Linked DNA regions of Homo sapiens: region 2 is linked to region 1. The links are contacts of gene promoters, found by promoter capture Hi-C in human tissues and cell types (Jung and others, 2019). All regions are on one chromosome and are shown on one strand. Each heading gives the region's core, a stretch centred on a gene start or on the middle of the fragment in contact. The rest is flanking DNA. Distances are from core to core; before and after follow the strand shown. Region 1 holds the start of PREX1 (phosphatidylinositol-3,4,5-trisphosphate dependent Rac exchange factor 1). Region 2 overlaps STAU1 (staufen double-stranded RNA binding protein 1).

The links. Contacts are between HindIII fragments. The study calls those that stand out against the background at their distance.
Region 2: a contact is called between a fragment that was not itself captured here and the fragment with the promoter of PREX1 in region 1, in 1 of the 25 tissues and cell types used here (hippocampus).

The regions. Positions count from the first base shown.
Region 1 is chr20:48,825,963-48,830,663 of GRCh38, reverse strand. PREX1 (phosphatidylinositol-3,4,5-trisphosphate dependent Rac exchange factor 1) reads left to right here and starts at 2,665. Exons shown (of 40, transcript NM_020820.4): 1 at 2,665-3,022. The coding sequence starts at 2,804. RefSeq lists silencers at 2,012-2,691, 3,102-3,171. The HindIII fragment of the contact is 14,754 bases long and covers 1-4,701 here.
Region 2 is chr20:49,179,796-49,184,223 of GRCh38, reverse strand. The region is part of intron 1 of STAU1 (staufen double-stranded RNA binding protein 1); the gene reads left to right. Among named protein-coding and RNA genes, the nearest start is that of STAU1, 6.3 kb to the left of the region's middle. RefSeq lists an enhancer at 3,233-3,761. The HindIII fragment of the contact is 6,066 bases long and covers 1-4,427 here.

The sequences.
Region 1 (4,701 bases), core at 1,416-3,915:
CAGAATCTGAGGAAGTAACGATGTATAAAACATTGGGGTGGGCCAGAGATGGGACCCATCCACAACGTGGAAATGTTTTTTGGCAGTGTGGGCCAATTCTTGGGTGAAATGTGGGATTTGTGTGTAAACTTGAGGCTAACCTTCCTTGGTCATGGGCTGAGAAGGGAACTAACATTTGTTGAGCACCTACTCTGTGCCAGCTATGTGTGTCAGGTACTTTACATCAGTGGTTCTCAACAGGGGGCAATTCTGTCCCCAGGGATATCTGGCAATGTCTGGAGACACTTTTTCTGTTTATTTTTGAGGCAAGGCTTACTCTGTTGTCCAGGTTGGAGTGCAGTGGTGTGATCACAGCTTACTTGCAGCCCTGACCTCCTGGGCTCAAGCAAGCTCCCCACCTCAGCCCAGCAGCTGGTACTACAGGTGTGTGCCACCATGCCCAGCTAATTTTTAAAATTTTTTTGTAGAGACAGGGTCTTGCTATGTTGCCCAGGCTGGTCTTGAACTTCTGGGATCAAACAATCCTCCCACTTGGACCTCCTAAAATTCTGGGATTAGAGGCCGGAGCCACTGTGCCCAGCCTGGAGACATTTTTGATTCTCAGATTGGGGAGGGAGTGCTACTGGCATCTAGTGGGTAGGGGACGCGGCTAAATGTCCTGAAATGCACAGGACACGCCCCTCCCCCAACAAAGAGTTATGTGACTCCAAATGTCAATAGTCCCAAGGTTGAGAAAGTCTGTATTGCATAGAATTCGCTCTCACAAAGACTCCCCTTTTACAGATTAGACGACTGAGGCCCAGAGAAATAACGTGTCTTGGCCAAGGTTACCCTGCCAGTTGGATTTGGACTGGGATACAAATGCAAGCCCGCTTCATTCCATGGTCCATTATGTTCCAGCCATGTTCTCCCCTCGTGGTAGACAGAATTAATTTAAAGATGAGGAAACGGAGGCTCAGAAAGGTACCGTGAACAGTTTAAAGTCACAAAGCAGAGATACTCCAGAGGCCTTTATTAGGAATAAAAATATAAATAAAAAACCAGCTACCTTTGGACACAATTGACTCCACTACCCAAGCGTGACAGGCTCACCTATCTCATGTCCTTTACTCCCTGCCCAGGGGAACTTCACTCAGCCCAAGGCCCAGATCAAATGCTACCTTGCCCATGATCCCAAAGAAAGAAGTCAGAGAGGGCAGAAGCCACCCCATTCTCTCCCTGTGTCCTTAGGCACTTACAGTATTGAGAGGCCAATGGGAGGAAAATCCTAGGCTTTTGGAACAGGAATAAATAAGCAATGTTTCTGTCCATAAAATGACTACAGTCTAGAGGCGGATACTATGTGGATCACTTTATCCCCTGCAGAGACGATACAATCTCTGGTCCGGAAACACGGGTGATTAGGGATTGTATGGGCCATTTGAGAGTGGGGCCAGGCTTAGAGGGCCGTTCACACATGCAATAATAGTAAGAACAAACATTTACAGAGAACTTTCTAGGTGTTGGGCTTCACACATGCAATAATAGTAAGAACAAACATTTACAGAGAACTTTCTAGGTGCTAAGTACTTCCCATGGAACCCCGGGGAGGACCTTGGAGCTAGGTACCATGATCGTTCCCGTTATACTGATGAAAACACTGAGGATCTTGAAGCAAGGAAACCAGCCCAAGGCCACCCGGCCAGCAAGTGGGGAGCTAGGATTTGAACCTGAGCAGCTGACTCTAGGCCCCAGAACTTCCTCCCCTCTCCATACCTTCCGATAAGGCGGGTGATGATCAACATTGCCCAGAGCAACCTGACAAGAAGCTGGGTTTCCCAAGGCCTTATCCCATGGGGTGGGTGGATGGAAGGGGGAGCAGGCAGGGTACCTGCCACTTGATCAATAACTCAAGAGCAGGTAATAATTTCTTCTGGGAAAGGTGGAAAGGGCAGGGTCAGGGGGCAAAGAAGTTCAGAAAGAAAAGGAAGGAAGGAAAGAGAGAGATGGGAAAGGAAACGGGAAAGAGAAAAGTGAGAGCGAGCGCGCGCCACGCATGTTCCTTCCCAAGGTCGTGGTAGCACCGAGGGCACCGCGAGGGCCCGGCGTTCCCGGGAGGGGCCGTCACTGCCCAGAGAGGGGCCGTCACTGCCCAGGCAGCGGTCGCCCCTGACTTCCCGGGGCCGCGGAGGCGCGCGTGGCGGGGCTGGCTTGCCCCCGAGCGGCTCCGCAGCGAGCTTTCCCAGCCCGGTGTTTACTTGGCCCGAGCAGCGGCCGGACCTGCAAGCAGGAGCCTGCGCGCGGCGGGTGTCGCGTGTGCCGGGTGGGAGTGGCGTAGCCCGCGGTGACTGCGGGTTGGGGGGGCGCCACGCGTCCGGGCGCGGAGTTGGTACGCTCGGTTCGGCGTGCGCGCGGCCTCGGACTCCCGGCTCCGCGGGGCCCTTCCGGAGGCTCCCGCCCGACCCCCGAGCTTCCGACGGAGGCGCCGAGCGCCGCGCCGCGTCCCCAGGGGCCCCGTGCACGCGCAGAGCGCCTCTGCGGCCGAGCGCGGCGTGGCACTTGGCAGACGGTCCCTGGCGCGGGGGCGGGGGGCCAGCCGTCTGGGAGCCCCGAGGGCCGCCCCCTCCCGCCCCTCGCCCGGCCCCCGCGCGCTGCCTCCGCCCCCGGCCCAGCCGCCCGGCCCCCAGTCCCGCCCGCCGCGCCGGGAGCCCGGCCCGCCGCTGAGCCCGGCCCGCCGGCGCGCCCCGTCCGGGATGGGGCGCCTGGACGCCTGAGTTGCCGCTCGGCGCGACGGAAGGAGCCGGCGCCGCGCGGCCGCGCTAGAATGGAGGCGCCCAGCGGCAGCGAGCCCGGCGGCGACGGGGCCGGGGACTGCGCCCACCCGGACCCCCGGGCCCCTGGCGCCGCGGCGCCCAGCTCCGGCCCCGGCCCGTGCGCGGCCGCCCGGGAGTCCGAGCGCCAGCTGCGCCTCCGCCTCTGCGTCCTCAACGAGATCTTGGGCACCGAGAGGGACTACGTGGGCACCTTGCGCTTCTTGCAGTCGGTGAGTGTCGCTCGGGAGCTTGGGGACAGCTTTCCCTCCAGCCGCTCGCCCCGCTGCGGTCCCCACAACCTGTGGCCGTGGTCCCCGTGGGTGGAGAATTGCCTCGGGGGCGCCCCGCAGGGCGCGCGGAAAGCGGGGGGGATCCGAGCTCCTCCAGAGCTGTCGCGTCGCCTCCCTCCCTGGCCGGCGCACGGTCCTGCTCCGACCGGGGCTCTCCCGCACTCCACTTCCCCGCGGCGCGCGCTGCCCTTTTGTCTTTTCTTCCCCGTCCCCGCCTTTCAAATAGTTTTAAAATTAGTTACATCCGCGATGCAGGGGCTTGGGGACCCCGGCGGCGCCGGGAGCTGGCGCTCCTGCGTCTTTTTCCCAGGAATAACTACGCGCCCGGTGCACCACTCATCTAGGACATACCGTAGGAGCCCCAGAGCCCAACGTCCCTGCGCGTTGATGGAGTAGGATAAAACCTGAAGCTCAGAGGAGGGGCGGGGATTGACAGAACCCCAGGGTAGAATCCCCCATGCACAGGTTTTTGCTGGAGTTCGGGGAGAGTGGGTTTCGAACTCAAAACTCGGCAGTCCAGGCTCCCTAACTGCATCCACCCCCACCAACTCCCCATCTCCAAGTGCAAAACCACGGCCTCAGACTTTGTAAAATAACAACCGACCACTTACTATGTGCCAGACACCTTACATGTGTCATTAATTAGCAGGTTTAACCTTCACAGGCGGTCTATGAAGTAGGGACGAGTATTTCCCCCATTTTTAATTAAAAAAATTTTTTTTTGAGACGGAGTCTCCCTCAGTCACCCAGGCTGGAGTACAGTGGCGCAATCTCGGTTCACTGCAACCTCCGCCTCCCGGGTTCAAGCAATTCTCTTGCCTCAGCCTCCCGAGTAGCTGGGATTACAGGCACGCGCCAGCCACCACGGCCGACTAATTTTTGTATTTTTATCAGAGAGGGGATTTCACCATGTTGGCCATGCTGGTCTTGGACTCCTGGCCTCAAGTGATCCGCCGACCTCGGCCTCCAAAGTGCAGGGATTACAGGCGTGAGCTACTGGGTCCTGCCTCCTCCGTTTTTAAGATTGGGAAAGTTTAGCTCCAGAGGGGCCGGGTAGCTTGTCTGGGATCGCACAGCTGATTAAGTGGGGGTACTGGGCTTTGAACCGGGACTATCCCAGCTGGTGTTCTAAACCCCTATTCTATGCTGCATTTTTCTTTTGCTTTTTTTCTGTGAGAGGGAGGAAGGGGCCACTTCCCTACTCTCCTAGGAAGTGAGAAAAGTGGCCAGCGGGTGGAGGGGGTGGGACGGGGCAGAGCCTTGGATGGAAGTTAGGAGACTCTAAAGTCTTTAATCTCCATGCCTCCTGCTGGGGCCTCATTTACTCCCCTTCTCTGCTCTAGGAAGTCTTTTAATCCTGGTTCAGGAAGGGCTGGTGTGGGGGTGGCTCTTTCAAAGACCCTAGAGCCAGGCTTTGTAGCTCCTAGTCTTTGGGAGAAAGAGGGAGACTCTGGGGTCCTCTGGGGCTCCTCATGGCTTAGGGGTGCAGCTGAGGCTGTGTGAGATCAGAGTTCCAGCTCAGGGAGGAGACAGCCTTAGACTAGAGCCCTTCTGCCTGTGAAAGGAGATGTACTGGGGGCAGGGGGATGTGGGAGAGGGGGTTGTGCAGAAGCATTGAA
Region 2 (4,428 bases), core at 145-2,644, 350 kb before region 1:
ACTGCAACCCCATGCCTGTAATCCCAGCACTTTTGGAGGCTGAGGTGGGCAGATCACCTGAGGTCAGGAGTTGGAGACCAGCCTGGCCAGCATGGCGAAACCCTGTCTCTACTAAAAATAAAAAAAATTAGCCGGGCTGGGTGGCGGGCACCTGTAATCCCAGCTACTCAGGAGGCTGAGGCAGGAGAGTTGCTTGAACCTGGGAAGCAGAGGTTGCAGTGAGCGGTTATCGTGCCATTGCACTCCAGCCGGGGCAACAAGAGCAAAAGTACTTCTCAAAAAAAAAAAAAAGGCATGTATACTTCACATTTATTTCAGTGTTTAATATTCGAAGTGTTTGGTCTTTATTTAAAAGTTTGGTGATATTTTTCTGATGAGAAATATGCCCTAGAACCTAACTCTTGTTTGTATCAATAAGCGTGTGTTAGTCGGAAGTCTCAGTTTCCAAGAACCTACCCCTTATGTTAAGAGAGGATTTACTGTATTTTAAGTTTAGAAATGGCCATGACTCATGGAACTCTCCTCCATCCCCATTCTAAAGTCCAGATCATTGATATCATTCTGGGTGTTATCAAAATGGATACTGCTTCATCCAGTCTCTCTCCCCAATACCACAAGGTAGTCTCAGTTTGTGGGGCAACTTTCTTTGAGCCTTTTTACTGGATTGAGTAAGAGTGTAATTCAGTATAAAGATGAAACTTTCATGAAAAGGGTATCTTTTTGTGGGATTCCACAAGTCAATCCCAGAGTTTGTCGCCCAGGCTGGTCTTGAACTCCTGAGCTCAAGTCATCTTCCCACCTCAGCCTCCTTAGTAGCTGGGATTATAGGCAGAGGCCTTGTTTTCATGAGCCTCTAAATTGGATCTTCTTATTTGATGTGATACCCAGTGACACAGAATTGTTCAATTTGAGGAAATATAAATTCCTCCCCTCTCAAATAAGAGCTTTGGAGTTGCTTTTCTCTCAGAATGGGATTTTAGAGCTTTCAAAAATGTTTAGAGAATTTTATGACAGATTTGTTTCACACTAGACCTATAACAGGTTATTTTACATTGACTTCTGGTGATGGAGACATTTGTGGTTGAAATGCTTCTCGTGTAATTTTCTACATGAGCTTTTCTTTAAATAAAACTTCACCAGAGTCAAGGCTGTATACCATTTGTGCTGTTCCAAAAAATATAAATTGCCAGTTATCAGTTGAACTATGAGAGGACATGTTAGTTGCTATGGTTATTTACCCCCACCATTTTATTATGAAAAATTTCAAACATATAACAAAGTTTATGAAGTTTTATTGTACATCTCTTTAGATACCATCTACTTTCTATTTTTGCCTCCCTGTTTCATGGTGCTGAACACCGTCTACTATTTTTTTTTTTTTTTTTGAGACGGAGTCTGGCTCTGTTACCCAGGCTGGAGTGCAGTGGTGTGATCTCGGCTCACTGCAAGCTCCACCTCCTGGGTTCATGCCATTCTCCTGCCTCAGCCTCTCGAGTAGCTGGGACTACAGGTGCCCGCCACCATGCCTGGCTAATTTTTTTGTGTTTTTAGTAGAGATGGGGTTTCACCGTGTTAGCTAGAATGGTCTCGATCTCCTGACCTTGTGATCCGCCCACCTCGGCCTCCCGAAGTGCTGGGATTACAGGCGTGAGCCACTGTGCCCGGCATACCTTCTGCTCTTTGTCATGAACATTTTACCATACAGTATTATGAAGCTTGAATAATGTTGGCCAAATCCATTGTTCTCACCTGCTAAGGAGATAATAGGATTATAAATATATAGCTGTGTTGATCTTATCAAATGCCACGGGATGGATGGGCTTGGATATCTGTCTTGTTGACAGCTTAATGCTCTGAACTAGAAAACCTTACTGCAGAGAAAAGTAATATTTTTAAAGTGGTAAAATGGGAATTACTGCAAATAGCTTAATTTGTTTTTTAAGTGTTTACATTCCCATACTGGTGAATAAGGTTGATGTAACAGTGATTTATGTCACCAGATAAATGGAAGTAGAGAAAAATTTCTGCAGGCTGTTAATTGCTGTATATTTTCTGGGATTACATATGTTTATTTGTTAAAGAAGTAGACTCAGGGAACTCCCTCAAAGTATATTTACTGGAAGCAAAAGTGGAAAAATCTATTTGAGAAAGTGTTTGCTTTCGATTAAAAATTAGTCTTCTGAATATCAAATCTGTAACCCATCTGGCATCTGTTTAATCTGGAATCTAATTTGGGAAAGAAGTGTGATGACTATGTGGGTTTATAACAGTAATGGAAGCAAAACTGGCCATTTTATTATGATAGAAATTTTGTGTCATGTCTCCCAGACAATAAAGGCTAAGAAAATCTATTTAAATACATTGGGGTCTTTTCCCCTGAATGAACATGATTGCTGAGGGTTAAACCTTCATTAGATTGCCTCTGCTTTTTTTTTTTTTTTTTTTTTTTTTTTTTTTGTTGAGATAGTCTTGCTCTGTTGCCCAGGCTGGAATGCAGAGGTATCATCTCGGCTCACTGCAACCTCCACCTCCTGGGTTCAAGCAATTCTCCTGCCTTAGCCTCCCGAGTAGCTGAGACTACAATTGAGCACCACCACGCCCGGCTAATTTTTTGTATTTTTAGCAGAGATGGGGTTTTGCCATGTTGCCTAGGCTGGTCTCGAACTCCTGAGCTCAGGCAATCCGCCTGCCTTAGCCTCGCAAAGTGATAGGATTACAGGCTTGAGCCACTGTTCCCGGCCTTGCCCCTATACTTGATGTAGCTACAGAACTGGTTGCTCAGTGAGTGGGTTGGTTTTAGTCAGCATATTCTCTGATCCTATTTAAAATTTTTTACAAGTGGAGTGTTGCTGTAAGTTTTATAGATGTTTATGTGTAAGGACAGGTTTAGTGAATTTGCTGGATAATAATATTTACTGCTATTGAGCTCTTACCATGTGCCAGGTTAGAATTACAGGGTGAAAGTTATTTTATGCAGAAAAGGAATTAAAAGGTCAGGTTGAATTTACCTAATAATATAAAAGTTGCAGTTCATTTAGCTCTTTCCTTGAACCAAAGAAAAGGGTTTCTTAGACCCTTTATGTTGTATTTCTAATACTCATAAACATCTTTGCAGCGTAAAGCTCATAATAATTGCTGAGGATGCTGATGCGCTTCCGAGGGGCCAGATAACTGGCTCAGAGTCCTGAGGCACCAAGTATTAGTTCTAGAGCACAGGCTGGTCTGGCTCCAAAGTCAGTGTTCTTTCCACTGAACCATGCTTTGTCTCTAAATTATGCTTAGGTGCTTTTTGTTTAGGATAATTGATTCTGCTTGTCACTGGTGGCCCTCCCCTGACTCTCCCCACCGCAGCAGCTAGGATGAATTTTGCTCATTAGAACCCTAGATCAATTTGAAAGAAAGTCTGGTTAAGTAATAGTCTTTTAGATGGACCCTTGAAATAGCTTTCCAGTTTACTTTTATTTGTTATGTCAAATTAAGCTAAAACTTAAAGCTGATCCACAGGTTTGTGTGTGGGGAGGGGCTGTCTTATTAACCTTTGTGTTAAAGGAGGCCAGCTCCTAAATTACTGCTATCGTGTGTCATCAGGTTTGTTAAAAATTGCTGGCATGGTGGCCCACGCCTGTAATTCCGTCACTTTGGGAGGCCAAGGCAGGCGCATCACCTGAGGTCAGGAGTTCGAGACCAGCCTGGCCAACATGGTGAAACCCCATCTCTACTAAAAATACAAAAATTAGCTGGGTGTGGTGGTACGTGCCTGTAATCCCAGCTACCCCGGGGGCTGAGGCAGGAGAATGGCTTGAACCCGGGAGGTGGAGTTTGCAGTGACCTGACATCGTGCCGCTGCACTTCAGCCTGGGCAACAGAGCAAGACTCTGTATCCAGGGGGGGAAAAAAAAAAAAAGAACTGTAGTCCAGGTTGTTGCTAAAAAAAAAAATTCATTTCTTCTGAATTCTAACATTCTGCTTTAGTGGAAATGAGTTAACTAAGCTTCCAATTAACTTTATAGGATAGGTGCTGGTTGTCCTCTTTGCTTCCTAGCCCTTTCTAACATCCCTCTTGTGGCTAATACTGTTGGGAGTATTTAGTACAGCTTCCTGTTTGGAATTGAACTGCTTCCTGAACAATTTTGTTTTACTTTTGTTTGAAACGGTGATCTGAATCAGAAGCTTCTTTGGTATTCCACCTGGGCAGTCTTCTCTTATGGTTAGTCTTGAAAGGCTGGATCAGTGAAATTAAATCTGCCTTTGGATGTGAGCTTTTAGTGAAATGGTGTCTGAAGTTCCATTTTGTGTTTAACCTCAACTGAGGCTACCCTGTAGTCTGTAATGACATAGCATGTCTCATTAATCACTAATAGGTGTTGGAAATACCCCTTGGCATGAAGTGAGCAGATAATGCTGCTTACATTGTCACTATATTAGCTC